Regions from separate parts of the Homo sapiens genome. Here region 2 is linked to region 1. Evidence: promoter capture Hi-C in human tissues and cell types (Jung and others, 2019). All regions are on one chromosome and are shown on one strand. Each heading gives the region's core, a stretch centred on a gene start or on the middle of the fragment in contact. The rest is flanking DNA. Distances are from core to core; before and after follow the strand shown. Region 1 holds the start of SCTR (secretin receptor). Region 2 overlaps CFAP221 (cilia and flagella associated protein 221).

Evidence for each region. The method cuts DNA at HindIII sites, captures the fragments that hold promoters and counts their contacts. A contact is called where the count stands out against the background at its distance.
Region 2: a fragment that was not itself captured here is called in contact with the fragment with the promoter of SCTR in region 1 in 1 of the 25 tissues and cell types used here (mesenchymal stem cells).

The regions. Positions count from the first base shown.
Region 1 is chr2:119,521,759-119,527,168 of GRCh38, reverse strand. SCTR (secretin receptor) reads left to right here and starts at 2,686. Exons shown (of 13, transcript NM_002980.3): 1 at 2,686-3,014. The coding sequence starts at 2,943. The HindIII fragment of the contact is 25,327 bases long and covers 1-5,410 here.
Region 2 is chr2:119,577,653-119,583,062 of GRCh38, reverse strand. The region is part of intron 6 of CFAP221 (cilia and flagella associated protein 221); the gene reads right to left. Among named protein-coding and RNA genes, the nearest start is that of CFAP221, 36 kb to the right of the region's middle. The HindIII fragment of the contact is 5,211 bases long and covers 684-5,410 here.

The sequences.
Region 1 (5,410 bases), core at 1,437-3,936:
AGTTAAGGTGTTGAACTCTCAGTTAACCTTTCTTAGATCTGGATATGGGAGGTTCCACAGAGAAAGCCTGGCTGCATCAGTGCAGAGTTCTCTCTCCAGATGCAATCTCCCCAGTAAAAGACAGCCTTGCAGGGCTACTTCTGTTTGGAGGCCCTCTGAACAGCCATCTCAAAATATGTCAAATAATAGAGTGAAATATTTTGTTTCCTTCACGACACAGGCTTGGGCTCAGTCCTGAATTCAAATCCTGGCTCCTCCCCTTATTAGCTGTGCTGATGGAGGCAAGCACTTATCTTTCCTAAGCCTCAAGTTCCCATCTCTTTTATGGTCTTGGAGGACTGGATATGATAACACACCCGAGCTTCCTAACAGACTCCCCAGCACACGACAGGTGGTAAATATATGGTTAGTTTTCCTACCTCTTCCCTTCTACCCCTATTGTGAAATTGTCTTAGGCAGGTTTTAAGGACCTTTCAGGGAGCACTTCAATCCCTTTTCTCAACTCTCTGAGAGGCAGAGCTTCCCATTTAAGCAAGAATGGCTTGCTACAGGCCAGAAATGTATTGAATTGCCCAGAACTAATGTTGTTTTGTTTTTTCATCAGATATCACGAAGCTCTGGTATAAAGCACGGATTGCATTTTTGTGTTGTTTTCTTTTTATTTATTTCAACGCCAAACAGCCATACGCAGCGTTGTTACAGAAAACATTCAAACAACACAGAAATCTGTATAGTAAAAATTGCAAGTCCTTACCTCAGGCACTTTGCGATGGATATTTAGGGTGCTGCGGTTCAAGCAGCCTAGGAAATAACATTTTTCTTTCTAGCCTGAAACTTGAACCAATTGAGAAATAAGATCAAGACAGATGCGGCCAAATATCACTTTATAAAGTCAGTATTGCAGAATGTGGTTTATACTTGTAGGCAAGTGGGTTTCCTAACTAAACCCCAGAATTAGAGAGACAACAGTTCATACTGGACCAGTTCCAGTAGAGCCTCGACCACTAATCACAGCCTGGCCCAGGGAAATCCAGTTACAGGCTCTCTGTAGGGGGGCACACTGTCAAAGGAAGGAGAGAGGAGGGGACCGAACTCATGCCAGTTCCTTATTCCAAATGCATCAATCATGTAAGCTGGCCTCACCTGTGTATACGTGCCTGCATGCATGCTTGCGTGTGGGTGCACATGAGAGAGAGGTGGGGGATAGACAGACAGAGAGAGGGAAGGGGTAGAAACAAGTCAGGAGCATTATAGTAATGACTGCTGCCCATGAGAAAGAAAGAAATAAGGGTGATTCCCTTTCCCCATATATCATCTCGTTTCCTGCCACTGTCATAGTGCTTCCGCAAACATCCTTGCACATTTCATTAGGCCCTTGGGTGAGTATTTATGTAGAAAGAGTTTCTAGCAGGGGGTTGGTGATTATGTATACTTTAGGTTTGATGTGTACTGAGCATTGGTTTTGGACCTAGGAGCTGAATGGATTTTCCTCCCTTTTATTTCTGCTGGGATTTACCAGCCTCAATTTACTAATAGTCTCTTCCGGTAGGGAAGGCTGCTAAGGACAACACATTGTTACCTTAACAGCTGCATGGCCTTCTGCGTAAGGGCCAGTTACAGAGAGTCGGGTCAGCCATGTAAGGGTAGATTCAGGCTTTCCTGTCTGAGCCTCTGAGTTGCAGTACCCAGACATGTAATGAATCCTCCTCCACCTCCAATGCCCTCCTCTGTCAAATGGACATCGTATCACCTAGGGGTGTGAGGGAGAATTAAATGAGCTGATGTACTTAAAGTGCCTGGGAGAAAGATCAAGAAAGGAGGAGAGAGAAGAAGGAAGGGAGTGGGCACCAGTGCAGACTAAGGAAAATTGAGTTTGCAAGACCCATCTAGTGCTGGGCCCAGTGGCTCATGCCTGTAATCCCAGCACTTTGGGAGGCCGAGGTGAGAGGATCTCTTGAGCCCAAGAGTTCAAGACCAGCCTGGGCAACATGGTGAGACTCTCTTTTTTATGTAACAGTAAAAAAGGGCCATCGCCCTGTACTAAGAGGCCAAAAGAGACGCCTTGTACTAAGAGGACGTCTTGTACTAAGAGACGCCTTGTACTAAGAGGCCAAAAGCAAACCTCCAGGATACACAGCACCGATGGAGAGGGCTACTGGGACTACCTGCCTGAGGCTTAAATAGCCTCCCAGGGGGTTCATCCTCAGGACGGTCCCCAGATGCCTGAGTGTACCACAGATCCTCCTTGGTCATCATCAAAGGAGGAGTTCATGGGAGTGAAACTTCATGGAATTAGCGCTAATGACTTCAATAATGAAAAAATCGGAAATAAAGTGCAAGGTAGCTATCGGGGGGAATAGATGCAATGGGCCTCGACTGTGTGACAACTTTCAGTCCGAGAGTGGGTATTATCAGACGTGTTGTTAGGGATGAGAAAGCCGAGGCTTACAAAGGTGACCTAAGTTGCCCACCGGCCCCCAGCGAGCTTGCGCTTTCTGTCCGTGGACTCCAGAGACAGTGCTCTTTCCGGACCCGGGGTTGGGCGGGATTGCCGCGTAGAAGGCTAAGCCAGCGTGCCCTCTCCTGGCCTCCTCCAGCTTGGGCCCAGCCTGCGGGAGCCGACTCCGGGTCCCCGCGCCCTCCCTCTGCCTCCTCCCCTGCCAGCCTCCGCGCCGACCCCGCGCCAGTCCCTGCCGGGTGGAGGAGGCGCGCCGGCAAAGCCGCGTCCTGATCAATGGGGCGGGCGGCTTAGCGCGCGCGGCCACCTGGTCCGAGGAGGAGCAGTCCCGGGGCCCGCCGCAGGTCGGGTGGCTCAGCCATGGCTCCTCGGGGCGCAGCGGCCGGCCGGAGCCCGGGACCCTGCGCGGGGCGCTGAGCTCCCGAGCGGGCAGAGGGCACGGGCAGGCGGACGTCGGGGCGCCCTCGGGGAACGTGCGGGCACCATGCGTCCCCACCTGTCGCCGCCGCTGCAGCAGCTACTACTGCCGGTGCTGCTCGCCTGCGCCGCGCACTCGGTGAGTACTGCGCCCTTCTGCAGGCTGGGGACCCGAGGGAGCGACAGTCTCGCCCTTTCTCCGGCCTCGGGCAGGATGCAGGTGGAGAGGGACTAGCAGATCTTCCCATGAGGAATAGGGACTCTTCCCTCCCAATCCTCCCAACATTAATCTCTCCCAGCTCTTCTCCGGAGGGACCCTTTCCCAAAGAAAAACATCGTGCGCGCCAGACGAAGGCGGCTCTAAGATGAATCCCTGTGCCCACCACCGACCCCTTCCTCTGGTCTGGCTTCTGAAACTCTCCTACACGGAAATTCTGGAGCCGCCCGTGGCAGTGCCTACTGTGTCCTGGGCGCTTTGCCTCCAATCTTTCCTTGAAACCTGGTAATCACCTTTCGAGGCTGCTATTATCACCGTCACTTTACAGACAAAGAAAGGAAAGGAAAGGAGAGGAGAGGGGGAATAAAAATTCTTGCTGCAAGTCAGAAAAAGAGGATTGGAACCCACATCAGTATCAGTCTGCCCCCAAACCTTGACATTTTCACACTCACGGGCTGCGGATGGGAAAACCTGAGGGAGCTCTGGCAGGAGCTTCTGGGTCTGCGATGGGACCGCCTGCCGCTCTCCCCACACCGTCTCGTGTGGGATGCGGCTCCCTAATGTCTGCGTGCCTGGTGGCTCCAGGGCGCTGCTGTTCCCCAAAGCCAGGTCCTGGCAAGGGGCTGGAGGAGGAAAATAATAATAATAATAATAATAATAATAATAATAATAATAATAATAATAGCGGCAGGATGGGTGGTTTGTTTTTCTTTCCAACAGAAATTCCTGGGAGTCCCGGGCCTCTCTGAGCTCCGGGATCTCTGATAAAGAGAGTGGCCCCACCCAGACCAGCAGAAAGGAAGGAATGGGGAGGGAGTGGGGGTTAGAGGTGGGGGCCAGATTCCAGAATCATCCCTTCCCACTAGCATTCCAAATTGGTCCCCAAGTCGTCTCTTCCAAGAAGCTCCCCAGGGAACGCGCTTGGGGACCCAACTGAGTCTCTGATCTCTGTCCTGGGCAAGTCTCATGGTGTCCAGCCTCCTTGTCTTCCCTTAGTCTCCTCTGGTTTGATTATAAGGAAAACCAATGCTCCCGGAGCCGACCAGAGTGTTGACACTCAGGAGATGCTCATTTTTCTGGTAGCCCCAAGACTTTCAGCAGCAGTAGTTGGGATGAGTGCAATTTGGAGCTTGCTTGGAGCTCCCTTGCCACCGTGGAGCCTCCTCTCTTCAGTGGCAGTGCTGGCCTTGGAAGACGCTAGAGCAACAGCATGCACTCATGAGTTTTGACTCCCAATTTGGAGAAATGCCAACTGGGATACTGGGGACAGTGCAAAGCCAGGTAGAGCCAGAAGGTGTGTTATTCCGTGGCTGGGGGTGGGAGAGGCAATAGCTCCTTCCTTGGGACCCTCCCAGCCTCCTTCTTAAGTATTTGCAGTGACTCTGAGACTGTCGTAACTGGTACCTCGAGTGCAGGACTGAGGTTCAGCCTACATTTTTATCTCAAGGAAATCCCTGGATTATCACAGGAATAAATGGAAGGGGAAAATGAGAGGCTTCACTTGGTTTAAGTCTTCAGTGTACCTTGGAAGGATGCTTCATTATGCTATGGTCCCAATCCCTCATTTTAAAAATGAGCACACTGAGACTCTCAGAGAGAAGGGAGCTGCCCGAGATCAGCAAGTTAGTAGTAGAGCCGGGACTAGCAGCTCTACTCGCCCCACATACCCCACTTAACCCACTAAGGTTAGCACCCAGATCTCTTGATTCCCAACCATCCAGGGCTCTGTCTTTTATACCCCTTGTATTTCCTTTTTCTTTTTCTTTTTTTTTTTTCTTTTGAGACAGAGTTTCACTCTTGTTGCCCAGGCTGGAGCGCAGTGGCGCGATCTTGGCTTACTGTAACCTCCGCCTCCCAGGTTCAAGGGATTCTCCTGCCTCAGCCTCCCAAGTAGCTGGGATTACAGGCATGTGCCACCATGCTCGGCCAATTTTTTGTATTTTTAGTAGAGATGGGATTTCTCCATGTTGGTCAGGCTGGTCTGAAACTCCTGACCTCAGGTGACCTGCCTGCCTCGGCCTCCCAAAGTGCTGCGATTAGAGGCATGAACCACCGCGCCCGGCGGTCCCTTGTATTTTCAAATGTGCATTACTGCCTTACATAATCACAAGATGGTTTCCTGTGTATAAGTCGTGGTCCTTGGGTTATTTTACGGCTTCTGTAGACCTTAGATCTCACACTTCTTGGCTGAGAACTCCTGTAATAAATAGGAGTGGAACTGACCTACTTTGGTTGGAATATTTCCCAGCCTCTGGAGCCCTGCTTTCCTTCTGTTTGACTCTGGGTGGTCACACATTTGATTTTGAAATCTAAGTGTG
Region 2 (5,410 bases), core at 2,040-4,539, 55 kb before region 1:
TCTCCAGAAAGCAGGATATAGCTGGATTAAAAAATGTTTAGCAGGTAGGATAATCTTTTCCTTTAATAGGTGAGTTTAATAGGTTTTCATTTGTTACAATTAATAATAGATATATTTGAACTTATTTCTACCACCTTGTTTTGTATTTTCTAAAAAACAACTTTGCTTCATTTTTGTTCTTTTGCCTCTTGCTGGACTGATTGCTTTTATATTTCTACTTTTTTCCTCCTATGACTTGGCAGCTATAGATTGCATTTCTATAATTTTAATTATTACTCTAAATTTTTTAAAGATATGTCTTATTGACAGCTGGGTGCTGTGGCTCACGCCTGTAATCCAAGCACTTTGGGAGGCCGAGGTGGGCAGACCACTTGAGCTTAGGACTTCAAGACCAGCCTGGGCAATGTAACAAAACCCCATCTCTACATAAAATACAAAAATTAGCTGGGCACAGTTGCGTGTGCCTGTAGTCCCAGCTGCTCGGGAGGCTGAGATGGGCTGATGGCTGAAGCCTGGAACGCGGAGGTTCTAGTGAGCCGAGAGCGCATCACTGCACTCCAGCCTGGGTGACAGAGCACAGGCCCTGTCAAAAAAAAAAAAAAAAAGATATGTCTTACTTATTGAAAATTCCCAACAAAGTCTAAACATACCTAGTATTTCTATCCTCCCAAATACAGTGTGGTCAGCCCTACCTGCCTATTGAAGACTCTTTCTTACCCCTCCATCTTGTATATGCTATGTTGAGTTGTAGTTTTAGCTTAAACAACAAAAAGTACTGACTTTTAAAAATGGTTAATTAGTTAAATTTACCAACATATGTAATTAATTTTGGTGTTTGCCATTCTCCTTCCATTCCCATGGCTACTTTCCAAATATGTTTTTCTTCTTGCTGGCATATTCCTTTTAAATTTTCTTTTAGTGAGGATTGTGTGTGGGAAATTCTTACGTAAATAAACTTATTTTTTATTTTCTTCCTTGGGAAAAATTTTAGGTTGACTGTTTATTTTCCCCTGGCATTCTGAAAATATTTACTCCACATCTTTCCTTAATTGTTTGTTGCTGATGAAGAACTGCTGTCACTTTTTTGTAGATTATCACTCTTTTCTCTCTGGCAGCTTTTTAAGGTTTCTCTTTTTTTTCTTATTTATTTATTTATTTTTTATAGAGATGGGATCTCACTTTGTTGCCCAGGCTGGTCTCAAACTCCTGGGTTCAAGTGATTCTCCTGCCTTGGCCTCCCAGAGTGCTGGAATTACAGGCAAGATTTCTCGTTATTCTTGATGCTCTGCAGCTTGACTCTTACGTGTCTAGGTAGAAATTTATCTTTATCCTGCTAGATATTCATATTTGAATGCACTTACCAAATCTTCATAATTATCTTTAATTCTGAAAAGCTTGGTATTATTCTATACCATTCCCTCCACTCTCTCCTGACAGAACTCCAATTTATTAGACACATATATCTTGGAGCTTTTCAGTCTAGCTTCCGTACCCCCTAATTTCCCTTCATGTAAAATGTAACCTCTATGTACTCTATACTGGGTGAATTCCTGTATTATTACTATCTTCCAATCTATTAATCTTTTCTTCAATTGTGTCCAGTATAGAGTTTATTCAGTCTATTGAGATTTAAGTTTTCGGTGACTATATTTTGAATTTTTAAGATTTCTAAATGGTTCTTTTTATCTATCTGATCTTTAAAACAATGTCCATCTATTTTTGTTTCATAATTTCTTGACATTTTAAAATGGAAGTTTGCCTCAATCATCTCATTAAGAATCCTAAGTGTATCTATTTTAAAGTTTTATTAAACTGTTTTTAATAATTAATTTCATTCAATTATATTCTGATTGTTGGGTTTTGGCTTTCTTAGCACAAGATTTATTCGTGTGTTTTGGAATTTGGATTTGCAGGCTCATTTTGAGTAAAAGGATTTAATCTATATTCAATTTTATAATTGCATATTGGGGTTCCTGCCAGCCAGCTATTTTAGTGCTACAGTGAACTCAGTCACTGGGCCAGCAGGTAACATGGCTCACCTCTGCACCACAAGCTGGTTAGTACTGTCCCTTACACTGTCCTCTGTCCACAACCAGGGACGAGGCCCCAGGCCCAGGCAACAGGTCAGCAGAGGGTTTCCAGCTTCCTTTCGTGGGAAGTGCAAAGGTGGGGCAGCTTACCTCTTCTCCTGGCTGCAGGCCAAGTGCGGATCCCCTGAATCAGTGAGACACTTGCAGTCTCCTTTACCCCATGGAGTGGTCTCCAACACTGCCTGACTGCTTCAAAACCTGGAGCCTGCAAGCCTGTGGCTCCACCCTGCAACCCACTCAGCATTTCTATGCTGTTCCTGCTCTGTGGAGTTGTTCAGCTTGTTTCTGAGCCTGAGTGTGTCTTTTTGGAGGTCTCTTTATATTTTGTTTGTCACTAACTAGTAATTTTGCACAAAAAAGGTTCATTGCAGTTTGCGCACACTGCTTCATCCTGACCAGATGTCTCTAACTGTACTTTTGAGAGATCTACACTCTGAATGCAGAGTTCCTAACGTCAGGCAGTGCCCTGTTTCTAATTAATTTGCACTGGTACTTGTTTTTAAAACATTGTTCCTTAGCTATGATGTCTCTTTGAGAGGAGCGTAGCTGTACTGTGAGCACATGAGATCCCCAATAGGGTATAGGCCTGCATCAGACTTTATATACTCATGTTCAGGGGCCCTAGGTTTCTGATAAAAATTCTGAATAAGGGTCACCGTACAGTGTATGGTCTTCAGTCAACAGTAAAATGAAAACTTCATAGGATTGTCTACCAAACTCACAAATCCTGTCTTAAATCAGGCTCTGTTAGAGGTATGCAGTCAATCTTCACTCTGTGAGATGTTTCCTAATTCTGAAAAACAGAATATATGAAGGTAAGGCAATTCATGCTAACAGGTGCTCAGGCCCCACTGAGTGTCAGCTATTCTACCAGCGCTGGGTAGATAAAACTAACATTACAAGTTAGTTACACATGCGTGTGAGGTATTTCTGACCCTCAGAACCTAAGCAGGCCTTGGGTAATGCGCGATGTGAAGTGTTGAAAGGCCCAAATATGGTCTTTGAAGATGACGCCAGTGGACTCACGCAGCCACACAGGCTGTGTTGCCCTAGGTCAGTAACCCAGGAGTCTGCTCAAAGCTGTCCCGGCAAAGCAAAGTCTGATACTCAGGGCTCCTCTGCTAAAAGCTGCATGTTTGCATTTTCCTGAATTGAAACAAACAAAAACTCCTGGAGCTTTTCCCATTTGTTACATATACTCAATTTTCAATTAATTTCACAGCTCTGATAAGTCCCATAGAAAAGGTGTCAGGGTATTTGTTTAATAATAATTATTTGAAGCCAAGTTCCTGATGCATTAGCCAGTCTGGAAAAACAAACAGTTCCTTAAGGGCACAAAATTCCAAGTACCATAATTCAGAAGCAGATATAGCAGTGCAAGTAGTACAGTTTTCAGTGGAATTGCTGAACTTTTGCTTTCACTACTGCTGTGCATATTATGCATGTCAAATTAGTTTGCATGGCCACCATAATCATAAATCAAAGACAGTCCAGATGAATTTGAGTCAAAAGGAATTTTGGCTAATATGAAGTTTATTTAGAAGTTCTTCATATTTAAAGAGACAGAATCCTATTAGAGTCTGGGTGGAATTTTACATTTTAAACTAAATTCTCATTGTTAAATACCATTAAATCTGATATACAATGAAGAAACATATATATATGTATATATATATATCTCGTGCCTGTTATTTCTGAGAAGTGAGTAGGATACTGAATTAGAGCTCTTCTGTAACTTAGAGGAATCAGGCAACTAAAATATTAAGGCAAGTACATGTTAGTGCTTTTGGAAGTAACTACAACTTTTATCCCTCTTACCTTATTATTTAAACATTTTATCAATTATGCTAAGGCTATACATAGAAATATATTAAGTACTTTAAAATAATTATCCCTTATTTGAATAAAATTGAACTCAAACCTTTTAAATGGTAGACTTTTATATTACAATCATGTGGAAATTTTATGCCTATTAGAAGAAAGCAAAATTTGCCTTACAGAAAGCAAATATAATAAAATGACTTAATAGAAATTCAAATTTCTTTCTTGTCCTTTCTCTAGAACAAATGATCTTGAACTTACTTTAACATAAAATCAAATATACTGTCTAATTAAAAATATACTCTAACTAAAAATTCCCGATATCTAGAGAGGGGGGTGAAGAGGCTAGTTTACCATAATAGGATTTGGCTTCTTTTCTGGAAAAAGAAGGTTAACTGACAACAAGCATGACAAATGCTAACTTTTTCCACGATGACTAGGTTCAGAGGGCACAATAAATTAGCCATTAGTTATTATACTTGTATGAAATTTGAGGGAAACATCAAGATAAAAGAAAGCCTTCACACAGAGATGTATGGATAAGGTAAGCTATAACATAGACAATAACATGTGGTGGTATCACTACCAAGTGAAGCTTGGAGTTAATAGGCCCAGTGATCTCATTTTAGGGTTAAGTCAATTTAGTAGGACTTTTCCATTGTCAACTGCTCATTGATATGAGAATCATTCATAGATCAAAGGATGTGGACAACAATGATGTATCGTGTGCCATTCTTTCCCCTCTGAAGGTACAGAAGACTCAGGAAATAATCCGAGCCTGGGCAAGCTTTGGGGTTACCTGTTGTGGCAGGTTTCAAATAAGTCTACAAACTCTTCAACACTCTTTCCACTTAGAGGTGGAGTCTATGTGTTCTTCCTTGATTCTGGGCTCTAGGACTACTTAACTAATAGAATACAGTGGAAATGATGCTGTACCTGTTTCTTAAGGCCAAGGCCTAAGCAACTGGTATCTTCCATTTCTCTTGGGATGCTCATTCTAGAGCCTTGTCACCATGTTGTAAGGAAGCCCAAGTAGCCTGTGGAGAGACCTACCAGGACAGAACCAGACTTCCAGCCCTCAGGCCATCTGAGCTCCCAGATAATAGCCAGTATTTGAGTGGACCATCTTGAGAGTGGGTCTTTCAGCTCCCAGTTGAGCAGCCCTAGCTGGCTGTGCATGGAGCAGAGAGGAGCACTCCCCATCAGGCCATGCCCAAGTTGTAGATCCATGAGCAAAATAAATTACTGTTGTTATAATACATTAAGCTACTACCTTCGGGGTGGTTTTTATACAGAAAAAGGAAACCAAAGAACATTCTCTTTCCTGCTTCATTTCTCCTTCAGCGAATGATTATCTTACCCCATTTCTGGATGCCATCTTAATTTGGCAATCTTAAAGTCTTTGTTTTGGTACTATCTCTTAATATGTACCAGCTGTTGTGCTTATATGTCATCTAACTCTCTTAACAACCCTATGAGGTAAGTACTATTATTATCCT